Regions from separate parts of the Homo sapiens genome. Here region 2 is linked to region 1. The links are contacts of gene promoters, found by promoter capture Hi-C in blood cells and fetal thymus (Javierre and others, 2016). All regions are on one chromosome and are shown on one strand. The core of a region is centred on a gene start or on the middle of the fragment in contact, and the rest is flanking DNA. Distances in the headings are between cores, read along the strand shown.

The links. Contacts are between HindIII fragments. The CHiCAGO score rates a contact against its expected background, and 5 or more counts as called.
Region 2: a contact is called between a fragment that was not itself captured here and the fragment with the promoter of ZNF740 in region 1, in 1 of 17 cell types (total B cells). The highest score is 5.8, in total B cells.

What each region holds. Positions count from the first base shown.
Region 1 is chr12:53,179,040-53,184,689 of GRCh38, forward strand. ZNF740 (zinc finger protein 740) reads left to right here and starts at 1,683. Exons shown (of 7, transcript NM_001004304.4): 1 at 1,683-1,798; 2 at 2,638-2,953. The coding sequence starts at 2,945. It overlaps CSAD (cysteine sulfinic acid decarboxylase), which reads right to left and starts at 1,886. Exons shown (of 17, transcript NM_001244705.2): 1 at 1,693-1,886; 2 at 63-103. RefSeq lists an enhancer at 1,152-1,710 and silencers at 1,373-1,462, 1,753-2,052, 2,406-2,700. The HindIII fragment of the contact is 11,552 bases long and covers 1-5,650 here.
Region 2 is chr12:53,339,189-53,344,693 of GRCh38, forward strand. It overlaps a transcript of SP7 not described here. Among named protein-coding and RNA genes, the nearest start is that of SP7, 5.6 kb to the left of the region's middle. The HindIII fragment of the contact is 269 bases long and covers 1,446-1,714 here.

The DNA of each region.
Region 1 (5,650 bases), core at 433-2,932:
ACGCGGTTTCTCCATGTTGGTCAGGCTGGTCTGGAACTCCCGACCTCAGATGATCCGCCCACCTCGGCTTCCCAACGTGCTGGGATTACAGGTGTGAGCCACCCTGCCCGGAGCAAAAAGATAACTATTTAAGGATGTTCATTATTGTATTGTTTATAAAGCAAAAAAATCTGAAACCTAAATGTTCATCAAGATGGGACAAGGCACACACATAAACTGGAATACTGTGCAACAGTTTTTTAAATGTTAGCTGACTCAGATGTCTAAAATACACTGTATGGCGCATTACAGGTGCTCAATAAATACTGGTTGAAAAGATTTTTGTATGAACACAGAAAAAAGCCTAAAAGCATATATACCAAACTGGTAAGAATGATTCCCTTCAGGAGCATGGGATAAGTAGAGGGGGAGAATAACCATTTTGTGTCTTTTATACTTTTGCGTTGTGTCGATTTGTAAAATAAGTAGGAGCTAATTTTCAAAAAAGATTTAAAAGACTTATTCCTGGTGATGTTTCTTTATCTCTCTCTTTCTCCATTTTGTCTCTATTTTAGAATGATCCTAAAACACAAAAAACGTACTTTCAATGGCCCAAATCATGGAGTGGCTCAGGGAAATGAAATCTGTCTACAAAAAAAAAAAAGTTGAGAATCCTTGTCTTTTTTTCATCATACAGTTTTTTTTTTCTTTTGGTATCACCATTACTTCTCCTAAAGTCACGACATAATATCACCTACAGCAGAAATGAGGACTTCAGTGGAATTGACATCTCCTTCCATCAAGCGCATTTGCAGTCCATCTTTAGCAGGACCTCTCTCTAATGGCTAAGGCTAGGCAGAAGAATTTGAAGACAGTCTGGTTTCCATTTTCCTAATGCAGCCTGGCCCAAGAGCCAGGACTCCCATAAGACTAGTCTACTGTGGGAGTCAGGGTCTTTTCCACGTGTGGAGGCTAGTGTTTGATGCTGGACGGCCTGGAGTAAAGGGCGAAGGGGAGAAGGTAACCAACCAGGCTGGCCTCGGGATTCGCAGAGGAGGGCTGGGGCTTTGACTTCTGCAGGGAGGTGAGCAGTGTGGCCAAGGGCTACTCAAGGAACGCCTCTGCGAGAATTCAGACTGTGGTTGAGCGCACAAAGCAAGAGTGTGCGAAGAAAAGTTAACGCCTCTCCCAGCTGACCCCAAAATCTGCTAATCTGGGCCTGACGGAAAAAATTCGGAGAAGAACCACCTCGGCCGAGTTACGTGAAAAGGCTGGGTACGAACTACTCTGGCTCTACTTGGGGCGCCGGCTCAGAGCGATGGGCAGGACGTCCGCGAGGAAGAAAGAGTGACGATGATTTTTCAAGGAGTCTGAACCAGCTCACCCAGCAAACCCTCCTCCCATCGAGCACCCAGCGTACAATCATCGAAGGGCCGAGGGTCCTGCCCTCAGTCTCGATGGCGGCCGGGGCGCGCCCCGGCCACGGCGCACGCGCCGGCCTCAGCGCTCCCTCCTCCATGCCCTCGGCGCACGGCGCCGCCCACTCACCCAGCTGCACCTCTCCGTGCGTCCCCAAGCTCACCCGCTCTGAGGCTGCCCCCGCTAGTCTAGCTGCCGAGCCCGGAAGTGGATGCAGCCGCTCGGCGGAGAGGACGAGGGGGAGGGGGAAGTGCTTCCGGGGAAACGGGCCGGGGTTGGTGTTTGTAAACTTGCCTCGGTCCCGGTGGGGGCAGCCGCGGCGGTGGGGTTGGCAGGGTGTGCTGGGGCCTGGAGGAGGCGCCGCGCGGCCAGGGAGCCAGCGGGAGGCCGCGCCTGGCAGGTAGGAGCAAGCCCCAAAGACCGCAGCGTCGTCCGTACAGACGGCAGCGCTTCAGTAGCTCGCAAGCCGTGGGGTGCCGCGCGGGAAGGGGGAGGGGAGGGGAGGAGGGGCGCGTGGCGAAGGGAGGGGGATCTCCGGGGGAGGGAGGGGAAAGGCCGTGCGCGCACACCGCCCCCTGCCCGCGCGTCCCGCCGCGTCCCCGGCCCGGGAGAGGGCTCTCGGAGGGGACGCGGGCGCGAGCACGCATCTCGCGCGCTTCTCGGCACTCTCCGGCTCTGCTCCCGGTTGGTGCAGCGGGTGCAGAGGCTGGCTGGCCGGAGCGAGGCGGGCGACACGCCGCGCCGGGCTTCGCCTGCCTGTCCTCCACCTCCGCAGCAAGTTTCCCTACCTTCGGGCGGACGGGGAGAACGCACACGTGTGGGCACTGCCAGTCCCGTTTCTGCCCGCCACCGAAGCACCCAGCGATGGCCCTTGAGCTTTCCTCCACCCTAGTCTTGCCGCCTCTGTAAAGTGCGAGCTTTTCGGGCCGGCCCACTGGGCACAAAAGCCCCAAAGGGTCTCCGCCCCCTTCTTCCATTCCTGAGATGGCAAATCCAAGCAACTTTCCTTTTGGCAGAGTTCCTCCATAGGAGGCCCCAATTACTTTTGCTCCTGTTGGCTTCCACTCCTTGCCCAGGAGACCAGTTCCTCCTATTGACCTAGAAAGAAAACTCTTCTTGACTCATGTCCTCGTTCTGAGCTTCACAGAGAGCGCCCAGCAAAAAAAAAATTCATATCGCACGTTGTAATGGCCTGAAGATGTTGCATTTAGCAGCCCCCCTCTTCCTTTCTGGTTTCAGGTTTCTGAAACAGATCGTGAGCTTCATCAAGAGAATTCAACTGGAAAACCAAGACTGGTAGACTCTCTTTTTCTTCAGACAATAGGCAGGAGCCAGGCAGAGTCCAGGGATTCTTGGAACACCTATCTTTTCTTCGGAGGACACTAAGTTCTATTTGAAGACAAAGTTCAATATGGCAACAGGACTGATGGGACACGAAGGAGTCGCTACCGTGATTTGGTGACAGTTCTTCAAAACGACAGTGTCTCAAGGAAAGGTGGACCTAGGAACTCCTGAACTTTTGGGTTGCCTTAAGTGAGAAATCAGCATGGCTCAGGTAAAAAGCTCTAGAGTCCTCCTCCAAGATAACTGGGAAGCCTGTTTGCAGTTTCACTCTTGAATGCTGCCTTAGTCAACATATTGACCAACCCCAGTGATCCAAGCTCTGTATTAAGCACCAGGGGGAGATCTAGAGGAAGGAAAGGAGACAGGCCACAGCCCCTGCCTTCAGGGAGCTTCCAGTCAAATGAAGGAGGTAGGCTATACTGCATCACAGGCACTGATGGGACATTTGCAAAGCAACGTGTACTCAGTTTACATTTGGTACATTAAGTGCTGAGGGGTGTAAGGGAGTGAATAGTACGGTGAATGCTTCTTTTGTTTTTTTCCAACAGGAATTTATTGAGTTCCTGTTGCATGCAAGGCATTGTGCTGGGAATACAAAGATGAATACGATTGTCCTTGTCCCCAGTGAGCTTCCAGGCTAGTTGGGGTCGGGAGAGGGATGGAAAGCCATTTATTTTTATATTCACAATGCCTTGTATAGTGGCTGGCTAGTAGTAGAGACTCTGAATCTGTTGATTGAGGAATGTGCAATAATAGGGGTATGTACATAGGAGAGAACAGTACTTCTGCTTGGATAGAAAAAGAAGATGGAGGTTGAAAGATGCATAGGATTTTGCTAAACAAGCGAGAAGGGTGTTTGGACAAAAGGAACAGCATGGGCAGGAGCTTAGAGTCATGGGAAAATGTGATGAGGTTCCGAGTACTGCAGGTTGTTTGATAGTTACGGAGTAAGGGATTTAAATGGGGATAGTTATGGAGGTAGTATTGACAGTGATAGGTGAGGAAGTTGTTCCCTGCAGTAAGCAGAGTGTAACCCAAAGGCCTTTTATGCCTCGCTAAGTTAAGCAGCAGAGTAGCATCAGATCAGTGTTATGTAGAAGGTCATTATTGTGGAGGTAGAGGATGGACTGGAGAGACAGAATGAGCAGATAGGCTGTTGTAGTCATCTGAGTAGAATAGCTATGTGCACACATCTCCAGAGCTTCTCCCAGCTTGCTTCTAGGGAACCTCCCTACCAGTCTCACCAGGATGGCAGTCTGATTGTAGTATAATTGGCTTTCCTCCAGCTGCTTCTGAATGCACAGCTTCCTCCTTTCCATATAGAATAGGAGCCTGTCAGTTTCTTCTTCCTTTGTGTTTTGCAACCCACTTCTCAGCATTGTATTCAGTCTTCTGAGAATGCTGCCTTCCACTAAGGACTGAACTTTGTGCTAGACACTGTTAAGCGTTTTACGTCTTAGTTTACTTTTCATCAACCCTGTAAGGATAAGCATTATGACAGGCATTTTTCATGTAAGGAAACTAAGGCTTGCAAAGGTGGAATAACTTGCCCAAGATTATAGAGTGCAAACAGCTGAGCTAAGATTTTAACTCTGGATCTTTCACTCCAAAGTCCCAGAAGGTGGAGGGAGGGGTCCCAGAACGTACTGATCATCTAAAAGGAATTTCTTCATAAATTTGTGAGTTTGCTGACCAACGATTTCTTAAAATTTTTTTTTTCAGTAAGAAAAGTATTTTCTTTAATGCCGGCTAACCGAAGTCAGTTTGAAGAATGTAGCAGTTTTCTGGAAATTTACTTAAACATACCTTACTTAAGTAATTGTTTAAATTATATATGGAGCAAGGAATGTGAAAAAAAATGTGATCATACAAGCACACATATAAATGGCCTAAGAGGTCAAGAGAAATGCTGAACTCCAAAAATCATATCAGTTGCAATTGGTAAATACTTAGGGAGTTTAAAATCTAAAGGGAGAAATAGCCTGTAGTCCCAGGACCTTAGGAGACTGAGGCTGGAGGATTGTTTAAGCTCAGGAGTTCCACACCAGCCTAGGCAACATGGTGAAACCCCGTCTCTATAAATACAAAAAAAAATAGCCGGGTGTGGTGGCATTCTCCTGAAGTCCCAGTTACTCAGGAGGTAGAGGTAGAAGGATCGCTTAAGCCAGGGAGGTCAAGAGTGCAGTGAGCCGAGATCGTGCCACTGCACTCCAGCCTGGGCGACAGAGTGACACCCTGTCTCAACCAACAAGCAAAAAATGAAACAAACCGATAGAAAATACAGTTGGCACCAGCAAGATCTGCCAATCAAAAGTGGGCTCTGAAGCTAAGGGGTGTGTGTGTGTGTGTGTGTGTGTGTGTGTGTGTGTGCGCGCGCGCGCTCTGAAGCTAAGGGGTGTGTGTGTGTGTGTGTGTGTGTGAGTGACGGAGGGATTCTCGCTCTGTTGCCCAGGCTGGAGTGCAGTGGCGCGATTTCGGCTCACTGCAGCCTCCGCCTCCCGGGTTCAAGCAATTCTTCTGCCTCAGCCTCCCGAGTAGCTGGGACCGCAGGTGTGTGCCACCACACCTGGCTAATTCTTGTATTTTTAGTATAGACAAGGTTTCACCTATTGTCCAGGCTTGTCTCGAACTCCTGACTTCGTGATCCGCCCGCCTCATTCTCCCAAAGTGCTGGGATTATAGGTGTGAGCCACTGCACTCGGCCCAGCTGAGGGCTGTTGAGGGAGGAAGGAGGAAGGTCCTGAAGGAATCTCCTGTGTCAGTGGGTTAGCAAGATGGAACCTCATACCCACTCACAGTTAAGGCCTAGAAATACCTTCAAAGAAATATGTAGCCACACACTGCCTAGTGCTGATGACAAAGGTGTCAGTAATACTTGATTATTTACTTGATCTATATTTAAATGCTG
Region 2 (5,505 bases), core at 330-2,829, 160 kb after region 1:
CCACCCAGACGCTGAGCTCCAAGGGATGGATGCCCCAGACGGAAGGGGTGGGATGATGCCTTTCTGATATCCCAATGCCAGGACTGGGCTGAACCACAGGAACCATTCCCTTCCCACCCTCCCCTAGGAGAATCAGGGTGGGCTTTGTAGGTTAGAGGGGGTTGAATCTGGCACCTGCCTCAGTTCTCCAAATGATTTTGGATCTTTTTGGAAAGATCAGTGGGGTGAAAACAGAATGAAAACTGGGGAGAGTGGGGCCGGGTGCAGTGGCTCACGCCGGTAATCCCAGCGCTTTGGGAGGCCAAGGTGGGTGGATCACCTGAGGTCAGGAGTTTGAGACAGCCTGGCCAACATGGTGAAACCCCGTCTCTACTAAAAATACAAAAATCAGCTGAGCGTGGTGACGGGTGCCTGTAATCCCAGCTACTTGGGAGGCTGAGGCAGTAGAATCACTTGAACCCAGGAGGTGGAGATTGCAGTGAGCTGAGATCATGCCATTGCACTCCAGCCTGGGCAACAAGAACAAAACTCCATCTCAAAAAAAAAAAAAAAGAAAGAAAAAAAAAACTGGGGAGAGTGGGAGACCTGTACCCCCTATTCCCAAGGGATGCTACTTCCATCGTCCACACCATCACCCTCTACCACCTTTCTAGGCTGGGCTGTCTCTAAGAGCCTCATCCAAAGGGACTCCCAACTCTTCATTGTTGCTGTTATAGAAGGTTTGACTACCCTAGGGAGAATCACCAGAGAATAGTGAGCAGAGCCCCTGAAATAGAGACTGACACATGCCCTAATACATACCTGATGACAGACACATTCAGATCTGCATACTTGCACACACACAAGGTGACACATAATTCATACACATTTGTACTATGCAGGCATCCATATTGACACACACTGATATATACATATACAGATAATGCTTACCCCAAGACACCCTAACCCCCAATCATAAAAATGCACACACCAGTATATATATACATGCATACAGACTCACAGCCACCTAGAATACTCCCCACATGGACTCACAGACTCCCATCAACACACGTATCTACACATGTGGCAAATGTCACATACATATACCCAGGGCTACCATTACAACTTTACAGCCCTGGAGATCTCTGTGGTCTCCTAAAGGGCATTTGGGAACCCCTCTCCCTATAAGGATCTGGAGATAAGGGTGATATGGAGGCCACTGCCAGTCCTGCAAATTGCTGCCTCCAACTCCTACTAGTATAAGAAGTTCCAGTGTACCTTTAGGTACTTTTGATCCAATACTCCACACACACACCAGAGTTCAGAGACCCAGATGGCCCCAGCGAACTCCCTGGTCCTGGGGAACCCCAGCATCCCTACCCCCACCCAGGCCCCCGCTGCTCTGCGGCCCCGCTGACTCATCTCTCCCTCTGTGGAGCTCCCCAACCACAGGGGCCTGGAAGAGAAGCTTGGAAAGTTGCGCTCATGTCCCGGGCCCCTGGTCTGGCCACTACCCGCCCATGCACCCAGCCCAGCCCTTGTCTCCAGTGGATACTCCAGCGACAGAGAACATAGAGGGGACAGGAAAGAAGAAGGCACGCAGAGACAGGGAAACAGAAAGACACAGGAGAGACAAAGAGGAAACAACAAATGGTGGGCATACAGATGAGAGACCCTGAGGATCAGCTACTAGTCTGTTGGGTCCTCTAAGAGCAATGGGGCTGATGACCAGGAAAGCTTGCTCCTTGGGTTGAAGGAACATCCATTCATGGCCTCAGGATTTAGAGACTGCCGAGTGCCTTGACCCAGCATTTCTGACACTAGGCTCAGGGTACTTGGGGAAGAGGATCCAATTTTAGGAGGCAAAGCTGAGGACACAGGGTAGAAAGGAAGCTTTTAAGAGGCTGGCAACCTTTGTATAGGACAGCTTGGAAAAGGAGTTCCTCACCCCAACAAATATGTACACAAATTTACAGGTACAGACAGACTACAACTTCCCTCCCTCTCTGCTAGGTCTCCCCATCCCCTCTTCCAGCACCAGGGCTGCAAGGCAGGACCTCTGGGACTGACTCTGGCTCCCCTCTTCCCTGAGCCTTGGGTTCCTTCATTGACATTGAGCCCTGATATAATTCAGCAGCTTTAGGAGAGGCAGATCAGAATCAGAAACAGAAGTGCCATGGAAGGAGCAGGAAGGAATCTGGATGGCAGGGGACAAAGTGAAAAATGAAAGGAAGAGGAAGACTGGGGTCTGATTCTGAAACAAGGGGACCTGTCCTGGATGCCCGTGTCTAAAATGGGACAACATTGAATTAAGTAAGAACCTGGTCATCTCTAGAAAATGACCCTTTGTAAAAACGATACCCTAGAATCTGATCCATGAAATATACTAGTGTCTTTCATAAGAAGAAGTTGGGGTGATGGAGTTCTGATCACATCATCCCTAGGAGTGAGGCTGAGCAACTCAAGGGAATGGTCCTTCAAAATCCTAAATACAGGCCTGGTGAGGTGGCTCACACCTGTAATCCCAGCACTTTGGGAGGCCGAGGTGGGTGGATCACCTGAGGTCAGAAGTTTGAGACTAGCGTGGCCAACATGGCAAAACCCTGTCTCAGGCTGGCCGAGGTGGCTCATGCCTGTAATCCCAGCACTTTGAGAGGCTGAGGAGGGCGGATCACGAGGTCAGGAGATCGAGACCATCCTGGCTAACATGGTGAAACCCTGTCTCTACTAAAAATACAAAAAATTAGCCGGGCGTGGTGGCGGGCGCCTGTAGTCCCAGCTACTTGGTAGGCTGAGGCAGAAGAATGGCGTGACCGGGAGGTGGAGCTTGCAGTGAGCCGAGATCGCGCCACTGCACCCCAGCCTGGGCGACAGAGCGAGACTCCGTCTCAAAAAAAAAAACAAAAAACAAACAAACAAACCCTGTCTCTACTAAAAATACAAAAATTAGCTGGGTGTGGTGGCGCGTGCCTGTAATCCCAGCTACTCTGGAGGCTGAGGTAGGAGAATCACTTGAACCCAGAAGGCAGAGATTGCAGTGAGCCGAGATTGTGCCACTGCACTCCAGCCTGGAAGACAAGCGAGACTCCATTTAAAAAAAAAAAAATTCCTAAATACACACGTCTCCCCGCTTTCTCTGGCCTGCTGCATTCTTCCTCGGAGCCCAGATTTTTGAAATGTGGAATGAACTTAAAGAACATTCTTTCATTCAACAAATGTTCAGAAAGCACCTACTTTGTGCTAAGCACACTGGGCTAGACTTAGGCATGCAATAACAAGCAAGACAGACTCATCCCTTCACCTCACAAACTAACCAGCAACTAATACAAAAGAGTAGGAAGTATCTCGATAGAATAAGTACTGGAGGGCCAGGCGTGGTGGCTCACGCCTGTAATTCCAACACTGTAGGAGGCCAAGGTGGGTAGATCATAAGGTCAGGAGTTCGAGACTAGCCTGGCCAAGATGGTGAAACCCCATCTCTACTAAAAATACAAAAAAATTAGCCAGATGTGGTGGCAGATGCCTGTAATCCCAGCTACTTGGGAGGCTGAGGCAGAGAATTGCTTGAACCTGGGAGGCGGGGGTTGCAGTGAGCCAAGATTGTGCCACTGCATCCCAGCCTAGGTGACACAGAGAGACTCCGTCTCAAAAAATAAATAAATAAATAAATAATAAATAATAAAAATAAAATAAAATAAAAAATAAGTACTGGATGTTATAGGAGACAAAAGAGTAAATCTAAGCCAGTGTTGGGGGGGAATTAAGGAAGGCTTCCTGGAAGACAGCATGACTAAGTAAAGAAACTGAAGGACAAATAAGAGTTATCAAGTAAAAAAAGGAAGAGTGGTGCCAGTGCAGTGGCTCATGCCTGTAATCCCAGCACTTTGGGAGGCTGAGGTGGGTGGATCACTTGAGTCTAGGAGTTTGAGACCAGCCTGGGCAACATGACGAAACCCCATCTCTACAAAAAATACAAAAAAAAAAAAACATAGTCTGGGTGACAGAATGAGACCTTGTCTAAAAGAAAAAAAAAAGGAAGAGTGTTGTAGGAAGGGGGAAGAGTATATGCAAAGGCTCAGAGGTATGAGGGATTAACAACTTTTGAGATGCTGAAAATTGAGTGTGAGTGCAACACAGAGTGGAGGCTGATGGAGAAGTTCTAATCAGCTATGCAAGGGGCCTAGACTTGATCCAAAGGCAATATATGAGAATACTCGTATATTAGAGAAATGACTGACTTCAGAGAGGAGAATGAAATAAGGGCTTAGAGCCAGGCGGTTCTGGGTAAATCAGGCATTTACAATGGTGCAAGCTTGGGTGAGCTATTTAACCTTTGAGGCCTAAGATTCCTCTCCTGTTGAAAGGGGCAACTTAATATGGTAACCTCCCAGGGTTGTTACAAGGATTAGCAATAAAAAGTGTTGAGTTCTTAGCACAGTGTCTGGCACTTAGTAGTTGCTCCATAAATGGTGCCTAGCAGTATTGTCACAGTTGGGAGAAGGGCAAAATCGGAGGCAAGGAAACAATCTGTTGCAGCAGTCCAAGCAAGATGTGGGAAGGTGTGGCCTGCAGTAGCAGAGAGGATGAGCAGAAGTCAGTGGAGGGGGCCAGCACGGTGGCACATACCAGCACTTTGAAAGGCCAAGGCGGGCAGATCACTTGAGCCCAGGAGTTTGAGACCAGCCTGGCCAACATGGTGAAACCCCTTCTCTACTAAAAATACAAAAATTGGCTGTGCCAATTTTTGGCACATGCCTGTAATCCCAGCTACTTGGGAGGCTGAGACATGAGAATCTCTTGAGCCTGGGAGGCGGAGGTTGCAGTGAGCTGAGATTGTGCCACTGCTCTGCAGCCTGGGCGACAGAGCCAGACTCTGTCTCAAGAAAAAAAAAAATAAAAAAATAAGTCAATGAAGGGGTGATATTGAGGATGTGAGGTGGAGAGGATTTGGTGTCCAATCAGATGTGAGGGGTGAGTAGTCACACATGACTTCCCTTGATCTGTGTGTTGATGTGTGCACTTGCACACAGGATATGCAGGCATTTTAGAGGTATCTATTCAGTTCTGAGAATGGCTCTTGACAGTTGCTGGATCCGGCCAACAGTGAAGGGCCAGGGCAGTATCTGAGGACCTGGCCCTCAGTCTCCCAGAAGAACCCCCGCCTCTGCCCTCTGCCCCAATCCCTCCTGAACTATTTCCTTTCCCCCTTTTCACCCATTTCTCCCTCTCCCCACCTTCCATCACCTCCCCTACATAGGAACCCGCTGTAAGTTATAAGCCTACCTAGGCCCACTTTCCACCGCCTCAGTTAATGAAGGTCCTTGGGACTCAGCTACCAACATTAACACCTCCTCCCCACATAGCCTCAATGGGACGCCCCCCTCTGGATTTCAAAGCGCTGTTCAATGCCCCCATCCACCCCCACCTCGCGTGGACGTGTGAGGCAAGAAGGACGGTTGAAGCTGAGGCAGGATTTGGGGGGTCTTAGCCCCCAGCCACAGCTGTGGGGGAGATAGGCACCCTCAG